Regions from separate parts of the Homo sapiens genome. Here region 2 is linked to region 1. Evidence: promoter capture Hi-C in human tissues and cell types (Jung and others, 2019). All regions are on one chromosome and are shown on one strand. The core of a region is centred on a gene start or on the middle of the fragment in contact, and the rest is flanking DNA. Distances in the headings are between cores, read along the strand shown. Region 1 holds the start of LYPLA1 (lysophospholipase 1). Region 2 overlaps RGS20 (regulator of G protein signaling 20).

Region 1 (6,502 bases), core at 2,068-4,567:
TTCCACAGTGTGTAACGGGACCCGAGTGGGTTGCCACTGCTGGCTCAGGCAGCCTGCTTTTATTCCCTTATCTGGCCCCATCCACATCCTGCTGATTGGTCCATTTTACAGAGAGCTGACTGGTCCATTTTGACAGGGTGCTGACTGGTGCATTTACAATCCCTGAGCTAGACACAAAAGTTCTCCAAGTCCCCACTAGATTAGCTAGACACAGAGCGCTGATTGGTGCATTTACAAACCTTGAGCTAGACACAGGGTGCTGATTGGTGTGTTTAACAAACCTTGAGCTAGACACAGAGTGCTGATTGGTGTTATTTACAATCCCTTAGCTAGACATAAATATTCTCCACGTCCCCACCAGATTAGCTAGATACAGAGTGCTGATTGGTGCATTTACAAACCTTGAGCTAGACACAGAGTGCTGATTGGTGTATTTACAATCCTTTAGCTAGACATAAAGGTTCTTCAAGTCCCCACCAGATTAGCTAGATACAGAGCGCTGATTGGTGCATTTACAAACCTTGAGCTAGACACAGGGTGCTGATTGGTGTGTGTACAATCCTCTAGCTAGACATAAAAGTTCTTCAAGTCCCCACTAGACTCAGGAGCCCAGCTGGCTTCACCTAGTGGATCCTGCACTGGGGCCGCAGGCAGAGCTACTTGCCAGTCCCACGCCGTGGGCCTGCACTCCTCAGCCCTTGGGCGGTCGATGGGACCAGGTGCCGCGGAGCAAAGGGAGGTGCTGGTCAGGGAGGCTTGGGCCACGCAGGAGCCCACGGCGGGGGCGGGGGAGGCTCAGGTATGGCGGGCTGCAGGTCCTGAGCCCTGCCCCGCGGGGAGGCGGCTGAGGCCCGGGGAGAATTCCAGCGCAGTGAGGGCGGGCCCACAGTGCCGGGGGACCTGGTGCCCCCTCCGCAGCTGCTGGCCCAGGTGCTAAGCCCGCCGAGCCCACGCCCACCCGGAACTTGCTCTGGCCCCGGTTCCCACGGACACCTCTCCCTCCACACCTTTCTGCAAGCAGAGGGAGCTGGCTCTGGCCTGCGCCAGCACAGAGTGGCTCCCACAGTGCAGCGGCGGGCCGAAGGGCTCCTCAAGTGTGGCCAGAGCAGACACCGAGGCCGAGGAGGTGCTGAGAATGAGCGAGGACTGCTAGCGCGTTGTTATCTCTCAATGAGAGTGCAGTAGTGAGGATGACCAGAGTTCACTCTCATTGCCATCTTAGTTTTGGTGGGTTTTGGCCGGCTTCTTTACTGCATCCTGTTTTATCAGCAAGATCTTTATAAGCTATATTTTGCGCTGACGTTCTATCTCATCCTGTGACTTAGAATGCCTTAACCGTCTGGGAATGCAGCCCAATAGGTTTCAGCCTTACTTTACTCAGCCCCTATTTAAGATGGAGTTGCTCTGGTTCACACGCCTCTGACACTGGTTACCGTGTGAAAGAAATGGAGTGTTGTTTTTTTTACAGCTTTCTTCCGAACCTTACTCTCTAAGGATGGTATCCAGTATGTCCTTTTTTTTTTCAGATGGAGTCCTGCTCTGTTGCCCAGGCTGGAGTGCAGTGGTACTATCTTGGCTCACTGCAAGCTCCGCCTCCTGGGTTCATGCCATTCTCCTGCCTTAGCCTCCCGAGTAGCTGGGACTACAGGCAACCACCACCACACCCAGCTAATTTTTTTTTTTTTTTGTATTGTTAGTAGAGACGGGTTTTCACCGTGTGAGCCAGGATGGTCTCAATCTCCTGACCTCGTGATCCGCCCACCTCGGCCTCCCAAAGTGCTGGGATTACAGGTTTGAGCCACTGCGCCCGGCCTCCAGTATGTCCTTCACTGAATTGTAAACTTCTGAAGGTCAGGGCATTTTGGCTTTAAGTGTTTCTATCTTGTGCTCTCTTCCAGATCTTACCATGTAGTTGATATGCAACACATTTGTTGAGTAACTACATTTTAGGCCATAAAGGCACCTGTGCAGAAAAGGGCAGTCTAGTCTCATGCTTATGTGTCCAGAGTTGGTTCCTTCCGGTGGGTTCATGGTCTCGCTGACTTCAAGAATAAAGCTTGTCACCTTCGTGGTGAGTGTTACAGTTTTTTTTTTTTTTTTTTTTTTTTTTTGAGACAAGGTCTCTCTCTGTCTCCCAGGCTGGAGTGCAGTGACGCGATCTCAGGTCACTACAAGCTCTGCCTCTCAGGTTCACGCCATTCCCCTGCCTCAGCCTCCCAAGTAGCTTGGACTACACGACCGGCCAATTTTTTTTTTTTGTATTTTTAGTAGAGACGAGGTCTCACCGTGTTAAGGCAGGATGGTCTCGATCACCTGACCTCCTGATCCACCCGCCTCGGCCTCCCAAAGTGCTGGGAGTGTTACAGCTCTTAAAGGTCCCACAGACCCAAAGAGTGAGCAGCAGCAGCAAGATTTATTGTGAAGAGTGAAAGAACAAACTTTCCACAGTGTGGAAGGGGACCCAGGGCTGCCACTGCCAGCTAGGGGATGGGGGGCGTGGCCAGCTTTTATTTCCTTATTTGTCCCGGCCCAAGTCCTGCGGATTGGTCCACTTTACAGAACACTGATTAGCCCGTTTTACAGGGTACTGATTGGTGCATTTTACAAACCTCTAGCTAGCCACAAAGTGCTGATTGGTGCATTTTACAATCCTAGCTACAGAGTGCTGTTGGTACATTTTACAATCCTCTTGTAAGACAGAAAAGTTCTCCAAGTCCCCAACCGACCCAGAAGACCAGCTGGCTTTACCTCTCACTTAAACCTGTACTGTGTCAATATCCGTACATCAGTAAGTGTTGTCGATCAAGTTAGGGAAGTAGTGGATTTCTGGTGACAAATGTTACCCTTTCCAACTAAAGTTTAAAGAAGGTAAGTTGAACCCAAATCTACATACTGCTGTAGCCCCAAACGGAAATACTGCAAAAGCTCCATCAACGTCTCCCAGTCCATCCAGACTTTTACAAATGGATAGACCCCGGCCGCAGGAAACCAAGGAGCACCTGGGGTTGGGTTGGGTGAATTGGCTCTGGGGCTCATTCTTTTCACTACAGCGCCAGAAAAGCAAAAACCTAAACCAAGACCCAAGAGACCAGCCCTCAGCCTGCACCTGAGAGCACATTTTCCCTAGCCAGCACTGAGCATGCGCAGGCTGCGTGGTGTGGCGAAAGCGCAGCCAGGTCCGCGCTGCCGCCGCAGCCAATCGGAGGGAGGGAGCCGCCCGGACATTGTGAGGTGCCGAGGGAGGGGCGGCGGGCGAGGGGCAGGGCAGGGCGGACCCTGGACGCGCGGGCGCGCGCGGAAGGTAGCGCGGGGCCGCGTTGGCGCGCACGCGCCTGAGCGTGCGCCCGGTGGGGCCGGCCGGGACTCGCCGCTCGCACGCCCTTGGGCCGCGGCCGGGCGCCCGCTCTTCCTTCCGCTTGCGCTGTGAGCTGAGGCGGTGTATGTGCGGCAATAACATGTCAACCCCGCTGCCCGCCATCGTGCCCGCCGCCCGGAAGGCCACCGCTGCGGTGAGTGGCGTAGGCGTGGGCTCGGAGGGGTCCACTGGGCCGGCCACCGGTGGTTGCCCCTCGCGCGGGGTGGGCGTTGCGGGCGCGTGGCGGCCTGCGGACGAGGACGCTCCTCCCGGCCCGGGTGGGGTGCGAATGGTCCGCGCGGCCGGGTCCGCGGGGGGCGGGGGCAGCCGGGGGGTCACAGCCGGCGCGAGGGCCAGTCCCCAGCTCCTCCCTGCATTGCGGAGGAAGTGTGGCCCCGGGACCCCCGCGGGCCGGCCTAGGGCACGGCGTCAGCCTCTGCAGCGTGTTTCTGCCTGGTGTGTGGGTGAGGGAAACCTAAGTCCGCCAGGAAATCGCCTTATTGTCACCTCGCACTCTTATCCTCAATGAAAGAAGTTTGAAGATTGAGTGTCCTACAAGGTCAGACGTACTGTTTTTTAGAAAACTCGTGTATGAAAAGTCAAACTTATTTTTGCCTCCGGAAGCTTGCTTTTGCAGTGGAAAAATTCTACAGGATATGTGAGATGTTCCTGATTTCACTTGAAAGAGATAAACTGTTTTTCTTAGAATGTGATCATTTGCACTCAATGTCTAACTGGGACCTCTCAGTGCTACCCCCCCCCCATTCATTATCTCAGGAAATAAAGGGAGAAGTTGATCAGAATTTTTGCCATTTAAAAGAGGTCGATAAAGATTAAGTCGCCGAAGATAGTGTTGTGTAATTCTCTCGTAGGTTTCGTTCCGTTTTCCACCTTAAGCAAAGCTAGTGTGTAACAATCCTGTGTGGGCTTATTTAGGCATTGCTTATTAATTTTCCTCTTCTCTTATAGGTGATTTTCCTGCATGGATTGGGAGATACTGGGTAGGTACCATTATTATTAATAGTAACAGTAATGAAACTGGGTCATGCAACTTTTGTTTACGCGTTCAAAGGTTTAATGTTTAAGGGCGCTAAAATGGTATTTTAAGATTGCCAGTTAATGTATCTTACAGTGCGGTGATTTTATGTTTTGAAAACCCTCAGAATTTTCCCCTTATCATCGTGAGTTTATTGATTTTTTAACTCTGGTTTCTGGAACATATTAAAATTTCAAATTCCTCATTAGTTGCTTTGGGTATTGGATACCAGAGATCCGTGGAATGTTAGTAGGGACGGTGTGCAATTGAGAGCTTTCCAGAGCAGTTAAAATTTCAGAGCAGATTGAAGAGAAGAACTAGTTGATTTTGATAAGAGAACTAGTGGCAACATAAGGCATGCAGCATTCTGAATAGAGGGATTAGATGTTCACTCTAATGAGTTGAAAGGCAGGGGAGGCAACTCAAAGATTTATTTGGAGGCTTATCAAACAATTTGTTGTACTAACTACTTATTTTTATTTTATTTTTTGTTTGTTTGCTTTTTTCTTTTGTTATTATTTTTAGAGACAAGGGCTCTCTCTGTCGCCCAGGCTGGAGTGCAGTTGCAGGATCTTAGCTCACTGCAGCTTTGAACTCCTGGGCTCAAGTGATCCTTCAGCCTCAGCCTCTCAAAGCACAGAGATTAGAGGTGGGAGCTGCCTGAGCCTGGCCTTTTGTACTAACTTTAGATACATGATTTATCTTTTACTCAAGCTTTTTCTATATTGAGATGTTTTTGTTTTTATATTTAAATTGGTGATAATCTGTGAAACTTAAGCAAAATATGAATGTTGTTGAAAAATTGCAGAAATAGAGGAAAACTGAAGATAAATAAATTTTGATAAAGTAGCCCCAGAACGACTAAATTTTCTTTAAAATGAACCATTGGGGCCGGGCGCGGTGGCTCACACCTGTAATCCCAGCACTTTGGGAGGCCGAGGTGGGTAGTTCACTTGATGTCAAGAGTTCGACACCAGCTTGGCCAATATGGTGAAACCCCATCTCTACTAAAAATATAAAAATTACCCGGGTGTGGTGGTGCATGCCTGTAATCCCAGCTGCTAGGGAGGCTGAGAGAAGAGAATCACTTGAACCTGGGAGGCAGAGGCTTCAGTGAGCCAAGATTGCACGACTGCACTCCAGCCTGGGCCACAGAGTGAGACTCAAAAAAAAAAAAAATGCCATTAGGCTAGATTTTTGTTTGTTTGTTTGGAGACAGGGTCTGCTGTGTTGCCCTGGCTGGAGGGCAGTGGCGTGATCTTGACTCACTGCAACCTCCACCTTCTGGGTTCCTGGGTCTCCCGAGTAGCTGGGACTACAGTTGCTTGCCACCATGCCAGCTAATTTTTGTATTTTTAGTAGAGACAGAGTTTTGCCATGTTGGTTACGCTGGTCTCGAACTCCTGACCTCAAATGATCCACCCACCTGAGCCTCCCAAAGTGCTGGGATTACAGGCGTGAGCCACCACTTAAAAGTGATTCCTATTTTTTGCCTAATAAGTCGAGTTATGTAATACAAACTTTGTATGGAGTTACAGAAAAGGTTGCAGCACTCTTTCTGGCAATCCAGTGGTCCTGTGAAAATGATGAACTTATTTTACCAAATGAAACTCGAATAGCAGAATCTCTATTTTATGGCCAAACCTTTCTTGATGTTGCAAGTCAGGGAGAAGGTTGCTATCCTCTAACTTTGCCAATAATGAGCACTTCTATGCCTGAATGATTAGTTCAAGCAAAAAAAAAAAAACTTCAGTCTAGGCAGATTCCACAGACTGAAGCTAAAAGTAAAAATGGTGAAGACTATTAGGATCAAAAATACCAAGAACATCCATTACATCTTGACCAAAAGTTAAGTTTATATTAAAAAAGTATCCTTCTTTTTAACCTGTTGTGATAAAAGAAAAAACAAAGGTCTCCAGTTCTGAAATTATTTGGTGGGATAATGCTAAGGAAAGGCTGACTCTAGATTGGTTCCATGAGTGCATGATGAAACTTCGAACCTGTCAGCCTGACAAGTGGCAATTTAATACTTAAGATATTGTAGTCTCCCCTTACCTGCAGTTTTGCTTCCCATGGTTTCAGTTACCCGTGGTTAACTGTGGTTTGAAAAT
Region 2 (6,520 bases), core at 29-2,528, 200 kb after region 1:
GGTAGCCGGTAATGACCTTTAAACTTAATCTGTATCCTGGTTAAATCTTTTGGCCCCTCATTTCCTACCCCTCTAAAATGCAAAGTGTAAGCTTGCCATTCATTTTCTGGGATCCTAAGAAGCCATGAGATGCAGGAGCCTGTTAGCCTGGCCTCTGGCCTCCCAGGAGAATCATTACCTGCCCCGCCACTCCTCATCCCCAAGAGCGTCTCTCTTACTCTTTAAATATTTTGGAAAGATTCTTTAAATCTTTTTTTTTTTCCTGAGATGGAGTCTTGCTCTGTCACCCAGAGCTAGAGTGCAATGGGGCAATCTTGGCTCACTGCAACCTCAGCCTCCTGGGTTCAAGCAATTCTCCTGCCTCAGCCTCCTGAGTAGCTGGGATTACAGGCTCGTGCCACCATGCCAAGCTAATGTTTATATTTTCAGTAGAGACAGATTTCACCATGTTGGCCAGGCTGGTCTTGAACTCCTGATCTCGTGATCTGCCCACCTCGGCCTCTCAAAGTGCTGGTATTACAGGCGTGAGCCACCGCGCCCAGCCAAGATTCTTTAAATCTTAATAGATACAGGAAGGCTAACAAGACATAGAAAACATCAAATGCTTCAGAAAAAAAATGTGGTTCACAAGCAGGAGGAATCTGCATGCTTTGTTATCTGAGATAAGGAAGAATGGGACCAGTGTGAAGGCAGCTCTGATACCAAGCCACCCGGCCACTTAGCTCCATTGCTTCTCCCAGATTTTTGTTACGATATGCTACAGAGTTAATTGATGGGACATTTCTTTCTGCTTTCACATTGAAGAAATGACTAATGACATTAAAATGGGGTGGAACGTGAAGCCAGAGAGCTATGTCTGGGGATTTTACAGCTTTGGTAATCCCCAATATACCAACTATAGCAGATGGACACAAACAAGGGAGTCTCCCTCCTAACTCTCAGCTGTAAGCCTTCCCCTTGCATTGCACTGGGATGCTATGATTTTACCTTAGTCCCTCAGTTGTGCCCTATACATATCTCTCCCAGTACTTTTTTAAGCCTGTTCAAACGATTGGGTCTTTGTTGCTGTTCCACATTAAGAACAAAACTCCTTTCCTCATGAGCCTCATTCATTTCAATTTCACTGTTTTCTGAGCTCCCACTGACTGTGGTTCCCAGGTGCATGAAAAGCACTGCGATATTCCAGGAATATCCTCCTGTACTGCAGCCTCAAGAGACACTCTCATTTCCTTGTTCTCTGCAGTAATGTTTCTGAGTATTTAACACAACGTGTTTCAATTTACTCCTAATTTTACCCTCCTCTAGGTCGTCCTGCCTTCTAGGTTTCCCCTGCCTGGGAAATCTTTCTCTAATACTATTTTGCCTTGGATGGAGGATGATTTTTCACAGATACCACATTTGCCAGCACACTTAGGGGGCCACTCGATAGCAAAGTAGCAGAGGGTTGAGTGAGTTGTTTTTTTTTCTTTTTTTGAGATGGAGTCTTGCTCTGTCACCCAGGCTGGAGTGCAGGGGTGCTGTCTCGGCTCACTGCAACCTCCACCTCCCGGGTTCAAGTGATTCTCCTGCTTTAGCCTCCCAAATAGCTAGGACTGTAGGCACGTGCCACCATGCTCGGCTAATTTTTTGTATTTTTAGTAGGGACGAGGTCGTGATCCGCCCGCCTCAGCCTCCCAAAATGCTGGGATTACAAGCATGAACCACCGCGCCTGGCCTGAGTGAGTTTTTTGTAGGATCCTCTGGTCTTAAATACTTGGTCTTAAAGTTGGATGTTCACTTGTGGGTGGAGGAGGGGGACCCTGTGACCCAGGCCCCTCTCAGCCCCATGCATGCCTCTGACTTCAGACAGAACTGGAAGTCGAATGAACGGGAGGAGGAAAAGGATGGAAAAGCCATTTGGCTGGGGACAGGAGGCATAAAGTGTGTTGGGGAGAGGGACAAATCTCATTTGAAGGGCTCTAGGCTTCCAGAACCTGAAGGAAACAGTTTCTGAAGATGTTTGGCTTCAAGGAAGATGAGTTCACAGGAAGTCTTTTTTTGGCTGCTCGCTAGATTCTCATTCAAGAATTTACACAATGAAGTTAGAAAAACAGACCTGCTGAATCCATGCTAAACTCTCCCTGGGTTTAGCTGCCTACCTGAAAATAGCAACAGGGGAATGTGGCTTTCTCTGAATCACGTACTGCAAGAGTAACACCGGGTCACCAGATGCTGCTGAAGTCACAAACAGGCCCTGTTACTATTAGCAGCCGAGACGTAAGCTGAATGCTGGTCAACAGTGATGTTCTGTTTAGTAGGATGCTGAGATGAGGCGATTCTAAGTTTGAGAGGACGCTGGCCCATTATCCTGCAGTATAGTCATCACCAGACAAAAGTCCATCTCACTGTGGCTCATGAAATATTAATGAAGAGCTAGAATTACTTGCACTGACTTCAGCACAAATAGACCAAAAAATCAAATCAAAGCTCTATTTCCACTATGTTTGATACAGAAAGCCAACAGTTTAGTAGCTGGTGGATTTTTGTGGAAATTCTAAACTTTGCTTCCAGGCAAATCTATGGGTTTTCAAAAATTTCTGTCTTTTGGTTTTATTGTCTGACTATTTGGGTTTTATTGTCTATTTTAAGAAAAAGCTGGTCCATTGTTTTCTAGTAGGGGAAGTCAACTGGAAGCTTAATAGTAACAAAAGACTTTTGAATTATAATTACTTCCAGATGGATGCTTACAGATGTCCTCATCTTTTAAAAAACCACTTAAGCATCTTACCATCTGTTTTTCAGTGACTTATCATGGAAATCTTTACACTTTTGTTTATATAGCCGTTGCCAAATGTGTAAGCCCCAGGAGGTTTTAAGCCAGTGAAGGCTTTAAGACTATAATAAGAGTGTCTTTCTCTTCTCTTCTGCCATTACTAAATGAACATCCTATATAACTCAACTTTTACAATGGCCTTTTGGGAAGTATTAGAAAGAAGAGAGTATGATATGAAGGAAATAAATAAATTATGTATGTTTTTATTTGTTCTTTCCTAATGTCAGCCAACAACGAAGGACCATTTTGTAAGTACTGATTGAAATCTTTATTAAGAGCTTTGCTTATCCCAGGAAATAGTGGCATTCTCAAGAAAATTGCAGCTGGGGTGCATTCCCAGTGATAACTTGGCCCAGGGCACCTCTGAAAGTATTAAACACTTGGGAAAATCTTTGTCTGTGGGGCTGCTTTAGGGACTCTTCAAATGGCTGAGGAATATATGAGGCCATCATTAATGGTTTGCATGAGAATGGCCAGCTATTTACTGTTTCCCAGCAAGGAGCAGGCTCCCTAATGAGAATTTCTGCGTAGTTATTGCAAATTATAGAAAAAAACAGCCAAATCACTTACATCATAGAAAAATTAATGTCAAAAATCAAAGTTGTGGCCAGGTGTGGTGGCTCACGCCTGTAATCCTAGCACTTTGGGAGGCCAAGGCAGAAGGATCACTTGAGGTCAGGAGTTCGAGACCAGCCTGGCCAACATGGCGAAATCCCATCTCTACTAAAAATATAAAAATTAGCCAAGTGTGGTGGCAGGCACCTGTAATCCCAGCTACTTCAGCTACTTGGGAGGGTGAGGCAGGAGAATCACTTGAACCTGGGATGCGGAGGTTGCAGTGAGCAGAGATCACACCACTACACTCCAGCCTGGGTGACAGAGTGAGACTTGGTTAAAAAAAAAAAAAAAAGCAAAGTTATTATCTCCCCAGACAAAGCTACCCCTTCTTGTTTTTTCTCTCTTGGTAAGCAGTGTTACTATCTCTCCAGTTGTTCAAGAAAACTCATCATCCTCAACTCCTCCCAATCCTAACTCCTGGCAAAGGCAAAGGCAATCTGTCTCCCAGCATGCCTCTCACATCTGCCCTGTTCTTCTCCACGTGATATGGCCCTAGTTAACATCTCAGGTCTGGATAATGGTGGAGGTCTCCCAGCCACTCACTCTGCCTCCATTCTCACCTTGGATAAAAGGTAAAATTCTGGTAGGAGCTGTAAGAAGACCGCAAATACCCTTCTTCCCTCTATGGTCTTTCTGCTCTGCTTCTCCTTCTGAAGCAGCATCTAGTGCTGAGACTTGGTAGGGAGGGACCTGGCTTTAGGGTGAGTGTGCTTTTCTTGGGAAATACCTTTCATTGTGAAAGGTGGGGTAGGCAAGGCCAAGGGACAGAAGAACAAGTTCCCTGATGCTGCTTGGCTCAGGCTGGGAAGAAGCATGGAGAGTGCTGAGCTGTGTAAGTGACATCACCAAGGCTGCAGAGCTGGCAGAGATCCTGGGCAGAAACCAGTTTGCTCTTTGTGGCTTCCTGGGTGCCGTCTCCTGTCAGGGACCTAACTGCTGTGGAAGGTGGCTGGCTGGGGTGCAGCTATAGCCAGATTAGGATCAAAATTAATTTCAGGACTGTGTAACGAGCATTCCAGGTTAGTCAAAGTTGACAACATTTTTCTAAATTGAGATTTCTTATCCTGTAACAAATGTTGTAAGCCTCATTGTTCACTATTTTCAGAATTTTGTTTTTAATCAACAGTAAAACAGGGCAGTGCTTTTTTACTGATGGTAGAACAGTGTCTAGCATACAATAGGCACCTAAAATATTATGTGTCCAGAAAAATGTATAGTTATGTATGTACATATACATCTATCTATACAAGCACACACACGTACCATATTGATAACACAGCTGCTTAATAAATTAACCTGTCCATTTTTATTTAGAGGAAATAAAATTAACTGCCAGAGTATGAACTGATCCATCTGATCTCTCTGTCAAAAATATAAGAATCAATCATTTTGGGCTGGGCACGGGTGGCTCACACCTGTGATCCCAGCACTTTGGGAGGTCGAGGTGGGCAGATCCCCCGAGGTCAGAAGTTCGAGCCCAGCCTGGCCATCATGGCGAAATCCTGTCTCTACTAAAAATACAGAAATTAACCGAGCATGGTGGCGAGGGCCTGTAATCCCAGCTACTCGGGAAGCTGAGGCAGGAGAATTACTTGAATCCGGGAGGCAGAGGTTGCTGTGAGCCGAGATCGTGCCACTGCACTCTAGCCTGGGCGACAGAGGGAGACTCCGTCTCCAAAAAAAAAAAGAACCAATCATTTTGTTTTTACATTTAAAAGCTTATCTTTTTCTTCATTTTCACAGCAGTATCCATAACCTATTGGTCAGTGTAATGAGCCAGTGCAAATATTGCAACTATGCATAGACAGGGAATGGCATGCACATCCCCACACAAAAGAGCAGCTAAAATAATGAAGGAAATGCCAAGTGATGAGAAAGATAGAGAGGAAGGATAGAGAGCAACCAGAACTCTCCCGCACCGCTGATGGGAGTGTAAATTGGTGTAACCAGTTAGGAACACTCACAGAATGTGTTTTGGCTGACCCCATACACACCCTCTGACCCAGCCATTCCAGGCCTTGGTATATACTCCCTGAGAACGTTGCACCAAAAGTATGCATTAGGATGTTCTACACATAATAGTCAAAAACTATTCAAATGTTCATCAATAGTAGAATGGGGCTAGGCACAGTGGCTCATGCCTGTAATCCCAGCACTTTGGGAGGACACAGCGGGTGGAGTTGAGACCGGCCTGGGCAACATGGCAAAACCCTGTCTCTACAAAAAGAAGCAAAAATTAGCTGGATGTGGTGACATGCGCCTAGTCCCAGCTACTCAGGAGGCTTAGGTGGGAGAATTCCTTGGGTCCAGGAGGCAGAGGTTGTGGTGAGTCCAGGTCGCATCACTGTACTTCAGCCTGGGTGACAGAGCGAGACCCTGACTCAAAGAAAAAAAAATAAAAAGTAGAATGGATAAGTGAATGTGTTTATATAATGGGATATTATTCAGCGATGAGAATGAACAATCTCCAACTACCTCAATAAGTGGATTAATCTCACCAATGATGTTGGCAACTGCCATTCTGCATTCTATTCTATCTCTATAATGTTTTCCTTTTTTAAGGGACAGGGTCTCACTCTGTTGCCCACAGTGGAGTGCAGTGGCTATTTGGAGGCATGATCATACCACTGCAGCCTCAAACCCCTGGGTTGGAGCAATTCTCCTGCCTCAGCCTCCCAAGTAGCTCGGACTACAGGTGCGTGCCAGCTCTGTCTCCATAATTTTGACTACTCTAAGTACCTCATATAAGTGAAATCATATAGTATCTGTCCTTTTGTGTCTGGCTTATTTCCTTCAGCATAATGTCCTGAAGGTTCAACCATCTTTGTAGCATGTGTCAGAATTTAAGAGGTGCGGTTTTTCAGAGAAGGAATGTTTTAGAAGTGGCAATAGACAGCAGAGACACCTACCTTACTTCTAAGCCCTGAAGTGGCAGAATTTCTGTGGGGAAATGTCTCTAACTACCAGGGCCATAGGGAAGGCAATGTTCTCAAAGACTAGCCAGATCCCAGTGAGAGATGAAACAGAAAGAGACATTAAGAGACAAGTATAGGCTGGGCGCGGTGGTTCACGCCTGTAATCCTAACACTT

The links. Contacts are between HindIII fragments. The study calls those that stand out against the background at their distance.
Region 2: a contact is called between a fragment that was not itself captured here and the fragment with the promoter of LYPLA1 in region 1, in 1 of the 25 tissues and cell types used here (hippocampus).

What each region holds. Positions count from the first base shown.
Region 1 is chr8:54,098,762-54,105,263 of GRCh38, reverse strand. LYPLA1 (lysophospholipase 1) reads left to right here and starts at 3,317. Exons shown (of 9, transcript NM_006330.4): 1 at 3,317-3,509; 2 at 4,325-4,356. The coding sequence starts at 3,441. LYPLA1-TCEA1 (LYPLA1-TCEA1 readthrough) reads left to right here and starts at 3,317. Exons shown (of 21, transcript NM_001425842.1): 1 at 3,317-3,509; 2 at 4,325-4,356. RefSeq lists a silencer at 3,194-3,763. The HindIII fragment of the contact is 3,514 bases long and covers 1,029-4,542 here.
Region 2 is chr8:53,901,329-53,907,848 of GRCh38, reverse strand. The region is part of intron 1 of RGS20 (regulator of G protein signaling 20); the gene reads right to left. Among named protein-coding and RNA genes, the nearest start is that of RGS20, 24 kb to the right of the region's middle. RefSeq lists an enhancer at 4,195-4,244. The HindIII fragment of the contact is 5,266 bases long and covers 1-3,911 here.